2 separate regions of the Homo sapiens genome follow, and region 1 is linked to region 2. Evidence: promoter capture Hi-C in 16 types of primary human blood cells and fetal thymus (Javierre and others, 2016). All regions are on one chromosome and are shown on one strand. Each heading gives the region's core, a stretch centred on a gene start or on the middle of the fragment in contact. The rest is flanking DNA. Distances are from core to core; before and after follow the strand shown.

Region 1 (4,259 bases), core at 600-3,099, 34 kb after region 2:
GACTCAACATTCCCTCCCCCAAGCCCTGCCCATATGTTTTCCAACTGACTGGGACATGGAGAAGCAGAAGATGGACAGGTGGTTTTTAACCCCTATATTCCTCCAGCTCATAGGGGTTTGGTTTAGGAGAGTAAAGGTAGAATTCCTAGGGAAGGAGGGACATCCAGGTATACTGTACTTTGGTTTTTTTTTTTTTTTTTTTTTTTGGAGTCTCGCTCTGTCGCCCAGGCTGGAGTGCAGTGGTGCAATCTTGGCTCACTGCAAGCTCCGCCTCCCGGGTTCACGCCATTCTCCTGCCTCAGCCTCCCGAGTAGCTCGGACTACAGGCGCCCGCCACCACACCTGGCTAATTTTTTGTATTTTTAGTAGAGACGGGGTTTCACCGTGTTAGCCAGGATGGTCTCGATCTCCTGACCTTGTGATCCACCTGCCTTGGCCTCCCAAAGTGCTGGGATTACAGGCGTGAGCCACCGCGCCCAGGCTTTTTTTTTTTTTTTTTTTTTTTTTTGAGACGGAGTCTCACTGTCACTTACGCTAGAGTGCAGTGGTGCAATCTCAGCTCACTGCAACCTCCACCTCCCAGGTTCAAGCGAGTCTCCTGCCTCAGCCTCATGAACAGCTGGGATTACAGGTGCGCACCACTATAGCCAGCTAATTTTTTATTTTATTTTATTTTTTTGTATTTTTAGTAGAGACAGGGTTTCGCCATGTTGGCCAGGCTGGTCTCAAACTCCTGATCTCAAGTGATCTGCCCTCCTTGGCCTCCCAAAATGCTGGGATTACAGGTGTAAGCCATCAGGCCTGGCCTCCGGTACACTGTACTTTGAAATTAGAAAAACGGTTAACAGATCCAGCTCTGACTCCAGCCCCACAAGGACACAGGGTTCCTTTCCCTGGAGCAGATGCCCCTAGCTCCCCCTACTGGGGGCCCTCTATTGCTTAGGGAGCAATGGACCTTTAGACAGCGGCCAAGGTGACAGGCACCTTGGAAGAGGCACTTAGAGTGAGCAGTCTTGGGTCATCATCAAGGAGGTACCAGTCTTGGGCTGGCTGAGGGGTGAGGCCAGAAGGAACCATCGGGAACTGACCGGTGAGCTGAGTCAAGCGGAGCTGGCGCAGAGCGTGGCTGGAGTTGGTGTTATAGTTCAACATGACGAAGATGGCAAACTTCCCATCGTAGACCTGGGTCCCTCGCACCACGCGGAGGTTGGGCAATGGTAGAGTAGAGAATTCATTCATGGCCACGAGGACATAGCCTGTCACTTCTCGAATCCACTGTGACAGAGCAGATTATGTAAATGAGAGAGACAACAGGGCAAAATAATCTCAATCTCCTCTCCTCCTTCAGGCATTAAAGACTCTTTAACTGTTTTAATTCTTCCTTCTTTCTTTCCTTTCTTTTTTTCTTTTTTTTAAAATTTGAGACGGAGTTACGCTCTTGTTGCCCAGGCTGGAGTACAATAGTGCGATCTTGGCTCACCACAACCTCCACCTCCCGGGTTCAAGCAATTCTCCTGCCGCAGCCTCCCAAGTAGCTGGGATTACAGGCATGTGCCACTACACCTGGCTAATTTTGTATTTTTAGTAGAGATGTGGTTTTTCCATGTTGGTCAGGCTGGTCTCGAACTCCTGACCTCAGGTGATCCGAGCTTGGCCTTTTTTTTTTTTTTTGGTGAGACAGGGTCTCGCTCTGTTACGAGTGGCACAATCTCGCTCACTGCAGCGTCAAACTCCTGGGCTCAAGCAATCCTCCCACCTCAGCCCTCCAAGTAGCTGGGACTACAGGTGCATGCCACCATACCCAGCTAATTTTTGTATTTTTGTAGAGACAGCGTTTCACCACATTGCCCAGGCTGGTCTTGAACTCCTGACCTCAAGTGATCTGCCTTCCTTGGCCTCCCAAAGTGCTGGGATTACAGGCATGAGCCACTGCACCTGGCCTTAACTCTTGCTAATTCCTATTTGGGAGTAGGGAGTAGACTGTGTCACACTGCTGTGTCACTTCTGGGAGTGAAGACAGGCAGCTTTCTCCTCAAAGTGCCTCATACCAGTAGGGCCCCTTCCTCATCTCCCCAGGTAACCTCTTGGTCCTCAGGTTTCTCTCTGCACTAGTCCCTGCTGACCTTGCACTATCCACAGAACACCACCTGCCCCTGACCCTGCCCCCTATATATCCCTGGCTACAACAGTGAGACCATAGGTCCCAGATGACAGCCACTGTCCCCATAAATACACGGTTTTGAATCTTAGGAACTCCTGAGTCTTAGGAAGGGTGAACTCCAGCAGAAGGTAGCCCTGAAGAAGGAAGGAGGGTTCTAGGGGAGAATAAAGAGGAGCAGGTTGAGGAAGGAGGGTGGGCTCACTAACCTGCAGGAAGGAGAGGTCGGCATTGTGTCCCGTGAGCACAATCTCAAGGTTCCCCATCACCACCTCACACCTCTCGTAGAGCTTGTACAGTGTCTGGTATTGGTTCTCAGCATCGCCGGTCACACTCAGGCCATTCAGAGTCCCAGGACACACTGTTCAAAGCAGAGGGAAGAGTGGCTGAGGGCTGGACACAAATTCTCAGCCCATCTGCCATCCCCAAAGATCACCCCCTTGGTTGCCCTCTTCCAGTTACATTAGACAGGATCAGATGGCATTTGCCTCCAACCCTCCCACAAGCGATAGGCAGAAGCTGTAGTGGCCTGAGAGCTTTCTCTCTTCTCAGAATCCCCTTACCATTCCATGAATGGGAAGGTGAAAAGATTTCCTTTTTCAACCTGGGACCCCTCTGTGCTTCTTTTGGGTACTAAGGGGTTAACTGAGAAGGAAGACAGGGAATTTGTTTCTCTCCCTAGAAAAGAGAAGTTAGGAAAAGGCCGCAACTTTGATTACCCTCCTCTCCCCCTCCAACTAGGGCACTCACTTCTCTACCCTCATCCTGCCTCTCTCTAGGTCCTGGAATAAATATCTCTTTGGGACTAGTACACAGCCCCTATTGTGTCTACTGAGGGTGGGATGGGGGCAGAGGGTGGGGGCAGTGCCTGGGGCCACAGTCCAGCCCACAATGAGGCGATTCTATCCAGGAGGGGGGCTGCCCCACCCTGTCCCTAGACACCCCGTCCTCAGCAGCACTCCCCTCCACCCTCAAGCCTTGGGCTCAGACAAGTGACCTCAGTAGAGGGGGGAGCTCTGGCAGTGCTGGGGTGAGGGGGGGTCAATGGGAGCTTTGTCTTTAAAGCTGAAAGATAAGGAGCTAGTTGCCTCCCCGCCTTCCTAAACTCAGGGTTTCCTTCTCACTCTCTCCCCCATCCCAACACACTCTAGCAACCTCAGCATCACTTTCCAGCCCTAGAGTATTTTTCAGCAAATACAGAGGAACCTGGAGAGAGATAGTAGCAGATGCCCCATATTGAGCCTCCACACAATTTCATTGTTAGAAGAGGTTCATGAAAAAGCCTTTCACCATGGCAATCCTCACCCACACTAGGGGAGAGCCTAGACTAGAGGTACATGGCATGTCAGCCTTGGGAGTTCACTCTTCTTTGCAAATGTGGTGGACAACGGGCTATGGGAAGTCCTGGACTCTGAAGCCCTACCCCAGTCTCTTTCCTCTGGTTCAGGGAAAGACCATGTGTGGGGTGGGGAGTAGGGGGTAGATACCACCTGTTCCAGCCACCCTTCCCTGAGGCGGTGGTAGCTCAGTGGGAGGCAACAGTGGGAATGGAGGGAGGGAGACTGGTGAGGCCCCAATCCCTCCTATAACATACACCCCTAGTCTGACTTCTTGACCTTGGAGGGCTCCTTATCACTCCCCATGAAGGTTGGCTAGTCCCAGCAAAGAGAGCTAGTTCCAGAGGAGCTGGGAACTCCAGGGTCCTTGGGTTGAAATGAAAGAGACTAGGAAGGTTAGTCATTTCTGGAACAGCCCCACCCCAATCCCCTTCCTGGCAGGATACCCCCTTTCCCAAGTTATAGTGCCAACACTTCTCCCCAGATAAGGGAGGAGCCAAGCTTTCTGCACAGGGAAGTAGTAGTGTGGGCACACACATACACACACAATGTACACACGAACACGTACACATTGGTCCTGCTGGCTCAGGAATCTATAGTTGGGTTTCCTTGCAGGAAGTATTTCAGGTGGCCCCATCTATCCCACGTGCCCATAAGTGTTTGTGCAGACTTTGTGTCTGTGCTTGGAAGGCTACAGTGTTAGAGGTAGCCCAGTTCCCTGCTACCCTGAGGGTAAAGTCCATATTACACAAACAGGGGGCAAA
Region 2 (5,041 bases), core at 2,256-4,755:
TGGGCCATCGATACAGCCACAGGGGCCACAGGAGCCACAGATACAGCCACAGGAGCCATGGAGACAGGTGGAGGTGCCATTCCCTGGGCAATTGTTTGAGCCAGGGCAGCTGACAGTGGCGTGATCTCTGGGGTCAAGTGTGGGGGTGGGGGTGGTGGAGCAGCAGGAGGTGCAGCATTAGTTGGGGGAGCAGCTGGAGCTCCAGCAGGGGCCACCAGTTCTTGCTGGGACACTGGACGAGGCTGTAGAGCCTGGCTGCTGAGAGTAGTGTGAGTCTGGGCAATGCCATGGTTAAAAGTGGCAACAGTGCCCACAGTGGGGGCCAGAGTCTGCTCAGTCGCTGGTGCAGTGGAGCTCAGGGTTATGACCTTGGCCTGATTGCGGAACTGAGCATTTTGTTCCAGTAGTACCTCATTGGTGGCCAGCAGGTTGCTGACCTGCTTCTTTAACTCCTCTACCCGCTTCCTGAGCATGGCATTCTCCTCCTCTAGCAGTCTGCACTCCACCCCTCGCGGTGGAGCCAAACTATATTCATATGACTCAAAATGAGGGCCATCAGGGGGGCAGCATCCACCTCGCCGGCGTTTTGGGCCTGGCTCATGGTCCTCAAAGCCCCTGTCAGGAAGGTCATAGATATCATAGAGATCATGACGTCGTCCTGGGAGGACTGAGCCTGTTGAGCCCCCACCAGTGCCTCCTCCACCCCGAGCATCAAACTCAAAATCCCGTTGCAGGTGACGGAACTTGCACTTGGCTCCTCTCTGACAGTCACCCTTGAGAAAGTCACGGCAGATAGGGACCTCCTCCTTGCCATTTGGTAGGTCAGCCGGTGAAAGGCCAAGGCCAGCTGCTACTTTCTGCCTCAGCCGTGGGGGAAGCTCTCCTGTCTTCTTATAGCCATCCTCATCCTCCTTGGAGCCATGGATGAAACGGCAATTTGGGCGGCTACACTCCTTGTTCTGGAAGTCATGGCAGAAGATGAACTCGTTTTTGCTCACCCCCAAGTTGGACACCTCGCTCATGTCTGGGTGGCGATATCGGCAACGCTTGCCTCGCTTGCACACATTCCTCAAGAAGTCTCTACAGATGGCATCTGAGCTGGCCCCGCCACTGCCTACCCCTGCCCCACTGGCCTCCTCGCTGCCACCACCTCCAGGGCCTCCACCGCTGCTCCCGGTACCGTTGGCATAGCTGTCCCGGTCAGGCATCCTGGTCCCGCCCAACTCAGGGTTTTCTTTATCTTGCCACTCTTGGTGACCACTACAAAAGAGGAGAACTGTATCAAACAGGAGTCCTCCAGGGAGATCCCACTCTTCCTGACTATAAAGCAGGTGGCCCAGAGGGGCAATGGCTTTAGAGATGGAGAATCTAAGGGATAAGAATTCTGGCTGAAATGTCTGACTCATCAAAAGCCCCTCCCAGGGTTTTGTGCACCTGGTCTGGGTCAGAATGATTCACACTTGCCTGGCTAACGGAGGAGGGATAGGCCCAGGACGGAGCAGGGAAAAAATAGTGTTGGAATTCATCTTTCCTTTTGAGCTGACCTTATTAAAGTTGTGGAAGTGAAATTAAAACTGCAGTCAGTATCTGAATAGTCTGGAAGGAAACTGGGAATAGTGCCCAAGATGGGCTACTGAGCTACTAGGGCTGTAGAAGATGGGACACTGGTAACAAAACTTCCTTAACCCCCTTTCCTTTTCCTCAGGTAAGGGCTCTGTACACATCAAATCTCTAGAAGCCAAGAAATCCTGGGTGAAGAGACTGGTGTCACCAGCTTGAGGGGAGTCTCAAAACCTGTCATATTTTAGTATTCCCTCCCAGCCATCATCACTGTCAACGGCAGAGAGGTAAGCCCCTTCTATTTCAGGATAGGAGTTCTAAGTTAGAGTCTCCACTTCTAGATTTCCTAGGACAAACCATTTGTGATAAGGTCAAGTGGGAAGGAGTTAATTTCACAGGAACAAGTGACCTTTCCCCATTCCCCACCCCCTTCCTACTCCCCTATGTGAAGATCCCACTGACATCCAACCACACCATTCCTCAACCCAGAAAGATCCTCTTTATTTATAGACTCCATAAAAGCTTTTTAAGTCTCCTATTTCCCAAGAGAGCTTTGGAATGTCAGTCCACTGCCCTGGTTCTAGCCCTCCCCTCTCTCCACCCCCAGTAAGACCTGGAGTCCCTGCTACCACGTGTCTGACCTCCCAAGCCTTTCCTATGCGGTGTTCAGGCTCCCCCTGCTGCTGAAATAGGAAAACTTCATATTGTTCCCTTTGAGAATAAGGGAATCTTTCCTAATTCCTTTGGCCTTGACCTACCCCCACCCCACTACTGTGACTTTGCCTTCAGATCTCCCTAAAATGAACTAACCAAACCAGAGGCCAGAGTTACAAGAGAATCTGTAAGAGGGTCCTCCTCCTCTAAAGAGAGGTAGTCCCAGAATAATAGAAGCAATCAAGGAAAGAAGTGGTAAAAGAAGATACAAACTTTTAGTAAAGGGGAATGACCAGGTGAAGTACAAATGCCATCTATCCAAGCCTGGCTCACGTTGCAAGTCGCACCAGCAGCAGATAATTAGTTATGATGCTCCTCCCCACCCCACTCTCCCAGAATTGATACCTGAGGTAGCTCAGGTGAAGTCCGGGGCTCCTGTGGGTCTCCACCTCCACATCACTGCTGGGTTCTGAGCAGGAAAAAAACAGAGACTTGGGTGGAAGAAGGAGTAAGAGTGGAGGACTATGGGGTGGTTGTCACAAGAAATCTGACAAAACGGCAAAGCTTCGAGAACGTGAGGATTTCCTCAGGGTTCAAACTGAACTTCACCTGTCCAAGGGAGAAGTTGCCAGTAAGAAGAGTAAAACTAATTCGGAGGGACTGGGAGGAGGGGTTGGAAAACCAGCCCTGAGTGAACAAAGAGTGCGGGGCGCCCTGCCTCAAGATGAAAGAGGATGTGAGGGTCAGAGCACCGCCAAGGGCTGGAGTTAGTAATGGCTAGTGAGGAACCTCAAAAAGGCAGCGTCTGACAGTGCATTGGGATGGCCGATTAGACTTGAAGGCAGTGATTGTGACGCTTCCCAACACCCTAGAGTTTGCGAAAGAAGTCCTAGGAGTTTTCCCGCAGCAAGTCTTCTAGCTTGGCAGGTTCCGTGCAGTGCCGCCGGCGCTCAGCCGTGGGCTACGTGAATGGGACACTAAGGGCGCGCGAAGTGAAGCGGGGAGCTGGAGCTCCAGGTGTCATCAAGCTGAGGGGATGGGCAGGGTTGTGACGTCACGAAGCTGGCGTTTGCTCGCGATGCGGGGTCACTCAGAAAAGGGGCACTGCCCTGGGGTGTGAGGACGAGCCAGCTCGGTTCTGGGGGGCCTTCTGTGGCCTGGCCGAGCCCAGCCGCTGGGCCGGCCCCGACTCCTCCCCTCCGGGCGCGGCCTCCACCTAAGTCTCCCGCCTCCCTCACCTGCCGCCGCCGCCGTAGTTGCTGCTGCCGCCTGCCGGTCCTCTAGCTTCGACAAAGAGCCGCCTACCCGATCGCTCTTCCGCTTCCTGCGGAAGAAGTGACGCTCTAGCCAGCAGACCCGGAACCATACTCTATGGTGTATGAAGTACGCGTGCGACATGCCGCAGGGCGTTCCCAGCACGCTTTGCGTGTCACTATGGCAACCCAACCCAAAGGCACGACATGGTCTAAGCGGTAGTCGCCAAGGCAGCCCTCCTGGAAAGGGGCGGTACCAGCATTGGCCCCTAATAACCCGCGAAACCTAAAACCTGCCTCCAGAGACGTACCATATCCCATCCAACTCCAGCGAGATGCAAACCACACCACGTAACCCGGGCTGTTGCCTTTATAGCTTTGATACCCTCCATAGCACAGGTAGTGACAGGGCAAACTCTAATGACAGAAAACCCCCACCCGATGGAACCATAAAAAACATAATAGACAAGATGATTTAATTCTTCAGCTAAAACAGCGGAAGAGGTGATTTATTATATGGTTGTTACACTCGGCCACAAATAAACACAGAAATAGTCCAGAATGTCACAGGTCCAGGGCAGAGGACCAACATGGGCATTTTGTTTATGAGCAAGGTGGGTCTCAGAGGTGATCGGCGATCAGAGGGCGATGAAGTTCTAGATCCATTGAGACAAGCTCTAGACAGTAGCATGCAGTCCCACAACTTGTACCAGCATCCCCAGCGTCTGGCATTCCATGTTTCTGCTCCTGTGGCCTCCACGGTGCAACAAGCTAGCGGTTTACTTGGACCTCTGCCTCATCTTTCTTCTTTTGCGCTTCAGCCTGAAAAGCAGACACAGGAATGGAATACACCTCAAACCAGAGTTGCCTTTCCCTCCCACATTAAATCAAACGTCCACATAAAGAATGAGGTGGTAAAATGAACAAGCACTACGGTTCTATCGTTCTCTGTTCTGTTAAATCCTGGCTCCAGGGAGAAAACACTCAAACGTTTTTCTCCTAAAGATCTTTTAAGATTTCCAAACCAAATGTTTCTCCTAAGTTTTGTCCAAGGAACTTCCCTCCTCCTGGGCTGGCAAAGTCTCAACGTACCTGCGCATTCGCTTCTTCCTCCACTAGCAACCGATCACAAGCAGCAGATAATTAAAAAAAAAAAAAAAAAAAAGGGATGAAGCTTATTAGTAGGCTTAGCAAGGATATGAAATGCACTCTTTAGAACCGGACAGATTCTTAACCAAGAAGTATGAAAGATTGGTCGTAACAACTACATCAGTAACTTGGACACCCTCCCAACATAAGATCAGAATTCCACCCTTTTCTAAGCCCACCCTCTCTACCCATAGCACTTAACCGCTAGCTCTCTCACAAACTACCTTCTCTCTCCCACCAGCTCTTGGGCACCCTTGAAACCCAGTAGTTCAGGAGGTATGGCGGACTTGCCTTCGTCTCCTCGCTACTACTCGCCAACTCCTACCTCCCAAGCTTACTACCAGGAACCGCTCACCTTGGCTCTCATGGCGCAGAGGTTTCTACAGGGAAAGAGAGAAAGGCTACAGTTAGTTTGCTGTGATGAT

What was found. The method cuts DNA at HindIII sites, captures the fragments that hold promoters and counts their contacts. A CHiCAGO score of 5 or more calls a contact.
Region 1: a contact is called between a fragment that was not itself captured here and the fragment with the promoter of ZC3H10 in region 2, in 1 of 17 cell types (M2 macrophages). The highest score is 5.5, in M2 macrophages.

What each region holds. Positions count from the first base shown.
Region 1 is chr12:56,082,011-56,086,269 of GRCh38, reverse strand. ERBB3 (erb-b2 receptor tyrosine kinase 3) reads right to left here. Exons shown (of 28, transcript NM_001982.4): 2 at 2,368-2,519; 3 at 1,089-1,275. Among named protein-coding and RNA genes, the nearest start is that of ERBB3, 4.0 kb to the right of the region's middle. The HindIII fragment of the contact is 4,298 bases long and covers 1-3,998 here.
Region 2 is chr12:56,116,730-56,121,770 of GRCh38, reverse strand. ZC3H10 (zinc finger CCCH-type containing 10) reads right to left here and starts at 3,505. Exons shown (of 3, transcript NM_032786.3): 1 at 3,453-3,505; 2 at 2,620-2,683; 3 at 1-1,260. The coding sequence starts at 1,208. RPL41 (ribosomal protein L41) reads right to left here. Exons shown (of 3, transcript NM_001035267.2): 1 at 4,972-5,041; 2 at 4,560-4,582; 3 at 3,804-4,289. The coding sequence starts at 4,983. The coding sequence ends at 4,247. RefSeq lists an enhancer at 1-616 and a silencer at 3,781-3,830. The HindIII fragment of the contact is 1,863 bases long and covers 2,781-4,643 here.